3 separate regions of the Homo sapiens genome follow, and all the other regions are linked to region 3. Evidence: promoter capture Hi-C in 16 types of primary human blood cells and fetal thymus (Javierre and others, 2016). All regions are on one chromosome and are shown on one strand. Each heading gives the region's core, a stretch centred on a gene start or on the middle of the fragment in contact. The rest is flanking DNA. Distances are from core to core; before and after follow the strand shown.

Region 1 (3,460 bases), core at 308-2,807, 1.4 Mb before region 3:
TCACTGCAACCTCTGCCTCCCAGGTTCAAGCGATTCTCCTGCCTCAGCCTCCTGAGTAGCTGGGACTACAGGTGCATGCCAACACACCCAGCTAATTTTTTGTATTTTTAGTAGAGACGGGGTTTCACCATGTTGGCCAGGATGGTCTCGATCTCTTGACCTCGTGATCCACCCGCTTCGGCCTCCCAAAGTGCTGGGATTACAGGCGTGAGCCACCGCTCCCGGCCGAGGAACTCAATTTTTAATTCAATTTAAAAGTACTGAATTTCAATTGATTCAGTTAGAAATTGAGGAATCCGGCCGGGCGCGGTGGCTCAAGCCTGTAGTCCCAGTACTTTACGAGGCCGAGGCAGGTGTATCACAAGGTCAGGAGTTCAAGACCAGCCTGGCCAAGATGGTGAAACCCCGTTTCTACTAAAAATATGGGAGGGGGGTGGGGGCGGGGAACTTAGCCGAGCGTGGTGGTGGGCACCTGTAATCCCAGCTACTCGGGAGGCTGAGGCGGGAGGGAGGATCGCTTGAACCCGGGAGGCAGAGGGTGCAGTGAGCCGAGATCGCACCACTGCACTCCAGCCTGGGCGACAGAGCAAGACCCGGTCTCAAAAAAATAAAAATAAATAAAAACAAAAACACACACACAAAAACATATGCGTGCTGTTGTATTGGATAGCACAGCTCTGGATGTCTGGCGTTAGAGGGCTAAGTTACTTAACTCTTACTATCACTGATATGCTGGCACTCTGTTCATTACAAGGGCTGAAAAGGTCTTTAAGAGATCATCGGGTGACTTTAAAATCCCCATCTCACAGGCAGAGGTGAGCGGAGGCGCCGCTGGTCCGCTGCGCGCAGGGCCCACGCCCTCCCAACACCCGCCGGCGCTCCACTCCCGCACTGAACGGCTGAAAAGCAGAACAGTGCTGGCTCCGTTTCGTGTGTGGAGTTACTACAGAGTTCCGAAGCCCGGACGCGCACACGTCCTTCACCTAGTTAGTGGGAGAGCATAGAGGCGCGGGTGCGGGAGCGCGCTCAGGCACGCGGGGCTGCGGGGGGCGGTCTCGGCTGGGCCGCCGGAGTAAAGACCCAGGCGCAGCCAGGCGCCGCCCGCCCGCCAACAGCTCGCGTAACCTCCCGGAACGGCCAGTGCCCTCCCAGCCCGGCCCCCACCGCGCCCGCGCCGGCGGCCAGCGGGGACACGCGAGTCCGCCGCGGGACAGACCCGGCCCGAGCCTACCTGCGCGCGCCGTGCCGTCCCCGCTGTCCCCGCCGCCCAGCCCCGCGGCCGCGCGCAGCGCGCTCCCGCAGCTCGCCGACAGGTTCCCGGTGGCCCTGCGTGCCAGGGTCAGGATGGGCGCCGACCAGCCCTCGGCCGCCCGCGGCCTCGTTGCGCTCCGCAGGTCGCCTGGGCCGGGCAGCTGGCTTCGGTCCACGATCTCAAACTCTTCTCCCGGCTCAAGCGCTGACCCGGGCCCCGGCCCCGGCTCCAGCTCCGGCTCCAGCTCCCGCCCCCGCCCAGCAGCGCAGCCGCCTTCCCGGTCGGCCATCTTGGCCGTGTCATGTGACCCAGCGGGCGGGCGGGCGCGGGGTGGGGGCGGGCGGGCATCGCCTTTGCCTTAGGTGGGGGAGATTTTTCTCCCTCTTCACCGCCTCGCCTTCCCTCTGTTTCGAAAGGTTCGGGAAAGTCCAAGTCATAACATAAAAAGTGTGCGTATTCCCGGCCGCCGGCAGGACCTGTTCGCGGGGAAGTTCCTCTTGAACTTTCTCCGAGGACAGTTGTGCACCCTGCCCGGCGCTTCACGGGGTTCCCTGGCCGTCGTTGTCTTTGTGACACCATTTCCTCTTTTAAATTTTCATTTCATGGTCTATATTTTCCACTTCGTCATTTTTCTGTAGCACTCATTAGAACAAGCCCCGAAAGGGCGACTAAGGAAACGCACAGGCGAGGCAGGAAAGCAGGAATTTTTTTTTTTTTTTAATCTAATGACTATGACGGCTTGGCAAGAAAGAGTGCACGATAGTGGACTGGAAATCAGAGGTGGCTTCTCCTATTGATTAGTTAAGTGGGATAACAAAAACCGACCTCATTATTAAATAAGATTTGCAGTAAGGACCACATGGCAGATGTTAGCGATTGTGACTACTATCTCTGGTATCCAACTGTGTGGCCTGGGTAAGTCACTATACACTCAGTCTGTTTCTTCACTTGGAAAAGAAAGGAATTTGAGTAAGTACAAAGGAAAATTTTGGCCGGGCGCGGTGGCTCACGCCTGTAATCCCAGCACTTCGGAAGGCCCAGGCGGGCCTTTAGTAGGACGAAACCCCGTCTCTACTAAAATACCAAAACAACAACAACAACAACAACAAAAAACCAGCCAGATGTCGTGGCGGGACAGCTCTACTCCTAGCTCCTTGGGGGGCTGAGAGTGGGAGGATCGCTTGAGCCCGGGAGGTCGATCCCACAGTGAGCGGAGATCATGGCCACTGCACTCCAGGCTGGGCGACAAAGTGAGACCCTGTCTCAGAAAAAACACTAAAATTTACTAGCACTTAACACTTTGCAAAGTGAGGCAACATGAGCCACACCAAACCAGCAGAGCTGTTTTGATTCCCAGAATGTTTACAAATCTTAAAACTTGTTGCCAATATTTAGAAATCAAAAGATTTCACATAAGAATCTGGATTTTAGCTTTCTCTGGAATCACTGGAATATTTGGTAACTCATGGCATATTCCCAGATGGCAACAAACTGTTGGGAATAAACTGTGCTGCCCCTTTAGACGCCCAGCTGCTCCCTGGACCTGTCTTGGTCCAGCCCACTTCACTAGGTTGCATGATATGTCTGGTCCCTGAAAGGCCAGTTCTCAGTGAAGGGATACCACTTCATCTAGGAGTGTTTTGGGAATTTGTGGAGTTGGTGTTTGAGTTGTGTAATGACTGAGGGCATACTACCAGTCTTTTTTGTTTGTTTGTTTTCGTACGGAGTCTCGCTCAGTCGCCCAGGCTGGAGTGCAGTGGCGCGATCTCGGTTCACTGCAAGCTCCACCTCCCGGGTTCACGCCATTCTCCTGCCTCAGCCTCCCGAGTAGCTGGGACTACAGGTGCCCGCCACCACGCCCGGCTAATTTTTTTTTTTTTTTGTATTTTTAGTAGAAACGGGGTTTCACCGTGTTAGCCAGGATGGTCTTGATCTCCTGACCTCGTGATCCGCCAGCCTCGGCCTCCCAAAGTGCTGGGATTAGAGGCGTGAGCCACCACGCCCGGCCTGGTCTTGTTTGTTTGTTTGTTTTTGAGGCCAAGTCCTGCTCTGTCACCAAGCTGGAGTGCAGTGGCGCAATCTCGGCTCACTGTAACCTCTGCCTACCGGGTTCAAGCGATTTTCCTGCCTCAGCCTCCCAAGTAGCTGGGACTGCAGGGGCGTGGCGCCACACTTGGCTAATTTTTGTACTTTTAGTAGAGACGGGGT
Region 2 (3,126 bases), core at 574-3,073, 1.4 Mb before region 3:
CCCTTCCGAGACCTTCCCCAGCTGCATCCCTGGGGTCCTCTACCAGTGGGCTCTTTGCCATTTGCCCTTCTTTGGGTTCAGTACCTGTTTGCAGATCCTATGTAAAGTCCCTGGACTAACGAAAGTGTTCATCTAGAGCCAAAATTTCATTTTACCTGAGAATCCAAGTCTTCTCCTTTCAAGCAGAGATTGGCATCGAGAACATTGAGTCCCACCAGCAGACCAACAATCACCATCCCTTCTTCCTCCATCATTAAAGCCTCAGGCTCATAGAACTCGCTGAAAGAGATGGACAGGACAGGGCGATGCTCAGAAACAGCTTCACCATCCCCACTCCTTCCCCACCCTGAACTGCCTTTTCACCTGTGCCCTGGAGCCAGAAGATACTGCTGTGGATTTCCTCCCTCCCTTTCATTTCTCTTCACTGCTTCAACGGCTGCTTTTTCTCCCGTCCTCTCCTCTCTTCCTGTGGCTTAGAATGGGCTCGCCTCTCCTCCTGTCTAAAGTTAACTCCTCCATGCAGACCCTGGACCCCAGTTCTCCTCGTCTCCTCTTGACTCCTGTCACTCTCCCCTCCTGTGTCTCCACTGGCTCCTGTTCTGTGTTGATATGAATTACTTCTCCACTTATGCTGATATAAACAGGAAATGGGATCCCACATCCAAGAATAACACTCCTCCTTCTTGCGTCCCACGGAGCAACATCTGTTGCTTTACTTCCTTTATTGCCCAGTTATCGCGGCCATTTGCAGGGGGTGGTCCATCCCCTGCCTGATATTGCTCTGGTCAGCAATGACTTGCTAATGTACCAAATCCAGTGGCATCCAGGCCACTGTGTGTGTGTGCGTATAAGACTTTTCTCTTAAGAATTAGTTCATTAGTAAAGTGAGGGATATGGTAATTACCCTGATTTCATCATTACATAGTGTATACATGCATAGTATCCCATAAATATGTATAATTTTGTATCGATTATAAATAAAAAATTGAAAAATACTTTGTTCATTAGAAGAAAATCTGTAACTCAAAGTTACTCAGTGTAACTACTCAGAGTATGTGAAATATTGTAAATCAGTATTTGTCGTGTAAAGATATGTTCGACAATGAGCCATGACTTGAAAACACTGAAAGGCTTGGGTTTTAGGCTATGCTGTAAAATGTATCTATTTCTCAATTACAAGAAAGCTTTAACTCTGGAAAGAGTCCTTCCTCGTAAATCATCACAGTCTAGAGAACATTCCTTTTATAATGATTATTGCTTACTTATAAATATAAAAAATGAACCAGTCATAAATTTCTGTAAATATTATATACTTATTTTTTTATTTTTTATTTTGAGACAGAGTCTTGCTCTGTTGCCCAGGCTGGAGGTACAGTGGTGTGATCTTGGCTCACTGCAACCTCTGCTTTCCTGGGTTCAAGCAATCCTCCTGCCTCAGCGTCCTGAGTAGCTGGGATTATAGGCATATGCCACCATGCCCAGCTAATTTAGTATTTTTAGCAGAGATGGGGTTTTACCATGTTGTCCAGGTTGTTTTTGAACTTCTGACCTCAAGTGATCAGCCTGCCTTGGCCTCCCAAAGTGCTGGGATTACAGGCATGAGCCACCACACCTGGCTGATACACTTATTTTAATTCAAAATGATCTACAGAACTATGTTCTAATTATTATTTTTTTGAGAAGGAGTCTCACTCTGTCGCCCAGGCTGGAGTGCAGTGGCGTGATCTCGGCTCACTGCAACCTCCGCCTCGCGGGTTCGAGCGATTCTCCTGCCTCAGCCTTCTGAGTAGCTGGGATTACAGGCACCTGCCACCACACCTGGCTAATTTTCGTATTTTTAGTCTCTACTAAAAATACGACACCATGTTGGCCAGGCTGGTCTTGAACTCCGGACCTCAAGCAATCCACCTGATCTTGGCCTCCCAAAGTGCTGGGATTACAGGTGTGAGCCACCGCACCCAGCCTATGTTCTAATTATTTACCAAGCAAAAGATAAGCAAACATGGTTGATGAAATACCTTAAGAGATGTTTATTGTCTATAAGCACTTTCAGATAATCTGCCAGTTTCTTTTGCATGAGTGCAAGATAAAGCCACGCTCGGCCTCTTCCCACAGCTGTCCTAGAATTCAAACAGAGAATCAACTATTGTGGCATAACAACAACAAACACAGAAAAGACACCTGATTTAGCCAGGGAGACACATAGGAAACACACCCTTGTAAATGCAGACGATACTCTAAGAATGGCTGTTTGGGGTTGGGGAGGGATGCACATGGCCTGGGCAGGCAGCGAAAATGGCTCACCACATACCTTTGAGTACTATTACAAATACAATTAGATAATGCTTTGCTTATAGTCATAAAATATCACAGGAAAATATCAGGTTAGATTTGTGTAATGGATAAACATTCCTTCAAAAGACGAATAGAGAACTTAGTGCTTGTTAAAGTGCTGAAGCTTATAAAATCTCTAAGGGGTTAGGGTTAGCTCAAACGTACTTTTTATTTTTTATTTTTTATTTTTTTTTGAGATAGAGTCTTGCCTGTTGCCCAGGCTGGAGTGCAGTGGTGCAATCTCAGCTCATTGCAACCTCCGCCTCCTGGGTTCAAGCGATTCTCATGGCTCAGCCTCCTGAGTAGCTGGGATTACAGGCATGCATCACCACACCTGGCTAATTTTTGTTTTTAGTAGAGACAGGGTTTTGCCATGTTAGCCAAGCTGGTCTCAAATTCCTGGCCTCAAGTGATCAGGCTGCCTTGGCCTCGCAAAGTGCTGGGATTACAGGCATGAGCCACTGCACCTGGCCTTAAAGGTATAATTTTATGTTTTATTATTAATTGTGGTAAGATACACAGAACATAAAATTTACCATGTTAACCATTTTTAATCTTACAGTTAAGTAGTGTTAAGTACATTCACAATGTTGTGGAACCAATCTTTTTTTTTTTTTTTTTCGAGATGGAGCCTCACTCTGTCACCCAGGTTAGAGTGCAGTGGCACAATCTTGGCTCACCGTTGTGATCTTGGCTCACTGCATCCTCCACCTCGCAGGTTCAAGTGATTCTCCTGCCTCAGCCTCCCGAGTAGCTGGGATTACAGGCACCTGCCACCACGCCCAGCTAATT
Region 3 (3,078 bases), core at 217-2,716:
CCCCACCACACCTGGCTAATTTTTTTGTTGTTTGTTTTTGAGACAGAGTCTTACTCTGTCGCCCAGGCTGGAGTACAGTGGCACGATCTTGGCTCATTGCAACCTTTGCTTCCCAGTTTCAAGCGATTCTCCTGCCTCAGCCTCCCAAGTAGCTGGAATTACAGACACCTGCCACCACACCCGGCTAAATTTTGTATTTTTAGTAGAGACGGGGTTTCACCATGTTGGCCAGGCTGGTCTTGAACTCCTGGCCTCAAGTGATCCTCCCGCCTTGGCCTCCCAAAGTGCTGGGGTTACAAGCGTGAGCCACTGCGCCCAGCCTAATTTTTTGGAGCGACAGGGTTTCACCATGTTGGCCAGGTTGGTCTTGAAGTGCTGAGCTCAAGCCGTCTGCCAGTCTCAGCCTCCCAAAGTGCTGGAATTACGGGCGTGAACCACCGTGCCCAGCCAATTCTTATGCTTTTGCAGCCGCGACCTCCATCCACTCTCTACCCTACATGTCACTCCTCTGCTTAAAACCAAAAGATTTCCACTGTACTTAGAAAAAACTCCACATTCCTCTCTCTGACCTACAGACTCTATGTGACCAAACCCCAATTATCCGACCTCATCTCCTACCACTCTTTCCCTTTCTTACCATACTTTAGCCACACTAGCTTGCTTTCTGTTCCTTGACTATACTCTCAGTTGATTTCTGCCCTAGGGCCTTCACACTGGCTGTTCCCGCTGCCTGGACCACTCTCTTCCCGTATCTTCCTAAGCCTGCCTCCTAATTTGGGTCTCAACGCAAATGTCCCGTCCTCAGAGATGCTCTGCTAGACCACAGTATCTAATACTGACCCCTCCGCCCCACCCTCACACCAGTTACCGTGTCATATCGCCCTCCTCCATTTTTTTTTTTTTTTTACTATACAGTCCTACTTGAAGTTTCTAATCTTTCTTTTCTCATTAACCAAAACTGGAGGGAGGAAAAAGCCCATCATTTTCCCTGGACAGCAGCGCCTACTGGGAGTTTCACCCGCATTAACATGCAAACGACAGGCAAACTCCTAGTCATCCTTCCAAAGACCCTGCTCCATAGCCCTGCCGAGCCCGGTGCGCACCTGCTCACTTCCGACCCAGCGCGGTCGCACGAGGACTGGACGTTTGAGTCCGAGCAACTCCCCCCGGCTGAGGCGGCTCTTCGGGGGCTGGGCCGGGACCTATGAGTCTGGGACTCCAGCTCCCGGCCCAGGGCCGACAACTGCGAAGAGAACAAGCCCAAGGGCAGATTGTTCGGGGCTTAGTCGTGGGTAGCAGGGGTTCTGGAGAAGGCTGGGGCCCGGGAGGCCGGCCGAGCTTTCCCCGCCGCGCGCCTCAGCTCCGCCGGCCGCTGTGCCCGCCCTCGGCCCGCACCTGCCGGCTCCCAAGCCCGCCCGCTCTCACCTCGCCCCGCAGCCCCGGCCCCGGCTTCCGGCGCCACTGTCATCGGAACCGGAAGCCGCGGCGGGCGATCGGCGGCCCGGGCCCGCCCATTGGCGGTTTTGCGGAGGGGTGGCCGTCCCACGAGCCCGCGGCTTTGCGCCTCACCGCCGAGGCTCCCCGCCGCGCATGCCGAGTGGAGTCGCCCGCGGGAACCGGGCGGCGGCCAGAAAAGCCGCGCCTGTAGTCCTCTGGGGGTCGCGCCTGGTCGTTTCCAGGTTCCGAGTCCCTCCGGCCCGGCCCCGGGCCTCCCAGTCGGCGGAAGCCCCTGGCCGCGACCGCTCCTCGCCGGCGGGCGGGTTCCCCACCCGGCAGAGGCGTCGGCCTCGCACTCAACCCAGCACCCGACTCCCGGGTCAGAAGCCCCAAGCCCCAAGTGGTTACGCTTACAGCGCTGCCCGCCCTGCTCAGTGAGGGCGGCGCGGGGGCCGTGAGGGGCAGTGGCTGGGCTAGGTGCGCACCGGCCTCGGCAGGGCTGTGGAGCAGGGTCTTTGGAAGGATGACTAGGAGTTTGCCTGTCGTTTGCATGTTAATGCGGGTGAAACTCCCAGTAGGCGCTGCTGTCCAGGGAAAATGATGGGCTTTTTCCTCTCTCCAGTTTTGGTTAATGAGAAAAGAAAGATTAGAAACTTCAAGTAGGACTGTGAACAGGCTTAGGGATCCTGGACAGAGCCTAGAAATCTCAGGAGAACTGAGAGCTCTTGAAATATGAAGTGATGCTTAAAAAAAAAAAGAAAACTCCAGGCCGGGCGCGGCGGCTCACGCCTGTAATCCCAGCACTTTGGGAGGCCGAGGCGGGCGGATCAGGAGGTCAGGAGATCGAGACCATCCTGGCTAACACGGTGAAACCCCGTCTCTACTAAAAATACAAAAAATTGGCCGGGCGAGGTGGGGGGCGCCTGTAGTCCCAGCCACTCGGGAGGCTGAGGCAGGAGAATGTCGTGAACCCGGGAGGCGGAGCTCGGAGTGAGCCGAGACGGCGCCACTGCACTCCAGCCTGGGCGACAGAGCGAGACTCCGTCTCAAAAAAAAAGAATAGAAAACTCCGGGCCGGGCGGCTCACGCCTGTAATCCCAGCACTTTGGGAGGCTGAGGCGGGCGGAACATAAGGTCAGGAGTTCGAGACCAGCCTGTCCAATATGGTGAAACCCCGTCTGTACTAAAAATACAAAAATTAGCCGGGAATGGTGGCAGGCGCCTGTAGTCCCATGATCCTAGCTACTCGGGAGACTGAGGCAGGAGAATCGTTTGAACCCGAGAGGCGGAGGTTGCAGTGAGCCGAGATCGCGCCATTGCACTCCAGCCTAGGCGACAGAGCGAGACTCCGTCTCAAAAAAAAAAAAAAGAAAAGAAAAGAAAACTCCTTTCCTGTCCCAGCCTTTCTGGTCCCCTTAGCCCGAACTTAATCTGCCCACTGGGTATTCAACAGAATTCAGTTCTGCGGAGGAGGGGGTCCAGCCCTACCCTGCCGCCCTGTGTTGGTCGCTGTCCTGGGGAACGGGGGAAGGGGAGAAGATGGGAGCTGCCCATCTGCCCTAAGGAGGAAGGGTGAGGGTTAGGAAGGAGGAGGGAACAGGCACTGACCCCAAACCCAGGTCCAGACTGAATTTTCTTTTT

The links. The method cuts DNA at HindIII sites, captures the fragments that hold promoters and counts their contacts. A CHiCAGO score of 5 or more calls a contact.
Region 1: a contact is called between the fragment with the promoter of RUFY1 here and the fragment with the promoter of RMND5B in region 3, in 1 of 17 cell types (M0 macrophages). The highest score is 5.1, in M0 macrophages.
Region 2: a fragment that was not itself captured here is called in contact with the fragment with the promoter of RMND5B in region 3 in 1 of 17 cell types (endothelial precursors); the score reaches 6.7 in endothelial precursors.

The regions. Positions count from the first base shown.
Region 1 is chr5:179,548,651-179,552,110 of GRCh38, reverse strand. RUFY1 (RUN and FYVE domain containing 1) reads right to left here and starts at 1,557. Exons shown (of 18, transcript NM_025158.5): 1 at 1,232-1,557. The coding sequence starts at 1,541. The region is part of intron 4 of LOC128966623 (a long non-coding RNA gene); the gene reads right to left. LOC105377762 (a long non-coding RNA gene) reads left to right here and starts at 1,607. Exons shown (of 4, transcript XR_941315.4): 1 at 1,607-2,167. RefSeq lists a silencer at 923-1,632. The HindIII fragment of the contact is 8,514 bases long and covers 1-3,460 here.
Region 2 is chr5:179,566,455-179,569,580 of GRCh38, reverse strand. RUFY1 (RUN and FYVE domain containing 1) reads right to left here. Exons shown (of 18, transcript NM_025158.5): 4 at 2,019-2,120; 5 at 156-279. All of the region lies in intron 4 of LOC128966623 (a long non-coding RNA gene), which reads right to left. Among named protein-coding and RNA genes, the nearest start is that of RUFY1, 17 kb to the right of the region's middle. The HindIII fragment of the contact is 1,274 bases long and covers 1,187-2,460 here.
Region 3 is chr5:178,129,402-178,132,479 of GRCh38, reverse strand. It overlaps RMND5B (required for meiotic nuclear division 5 homolog B), which reads right to left and starts at 1,466. Exons shown (of 11, transcript NM_022762.5): 1 at 1,426-1,466; 2 at 1,104-1,243. RefSeq lists enhancers at 1-362, 1,641-2,292, 2,293-2,944 and a silencer at 1,320-1,909. The HindIII fragment of the contact is 11,712 bases long and covers 1-3,078 here.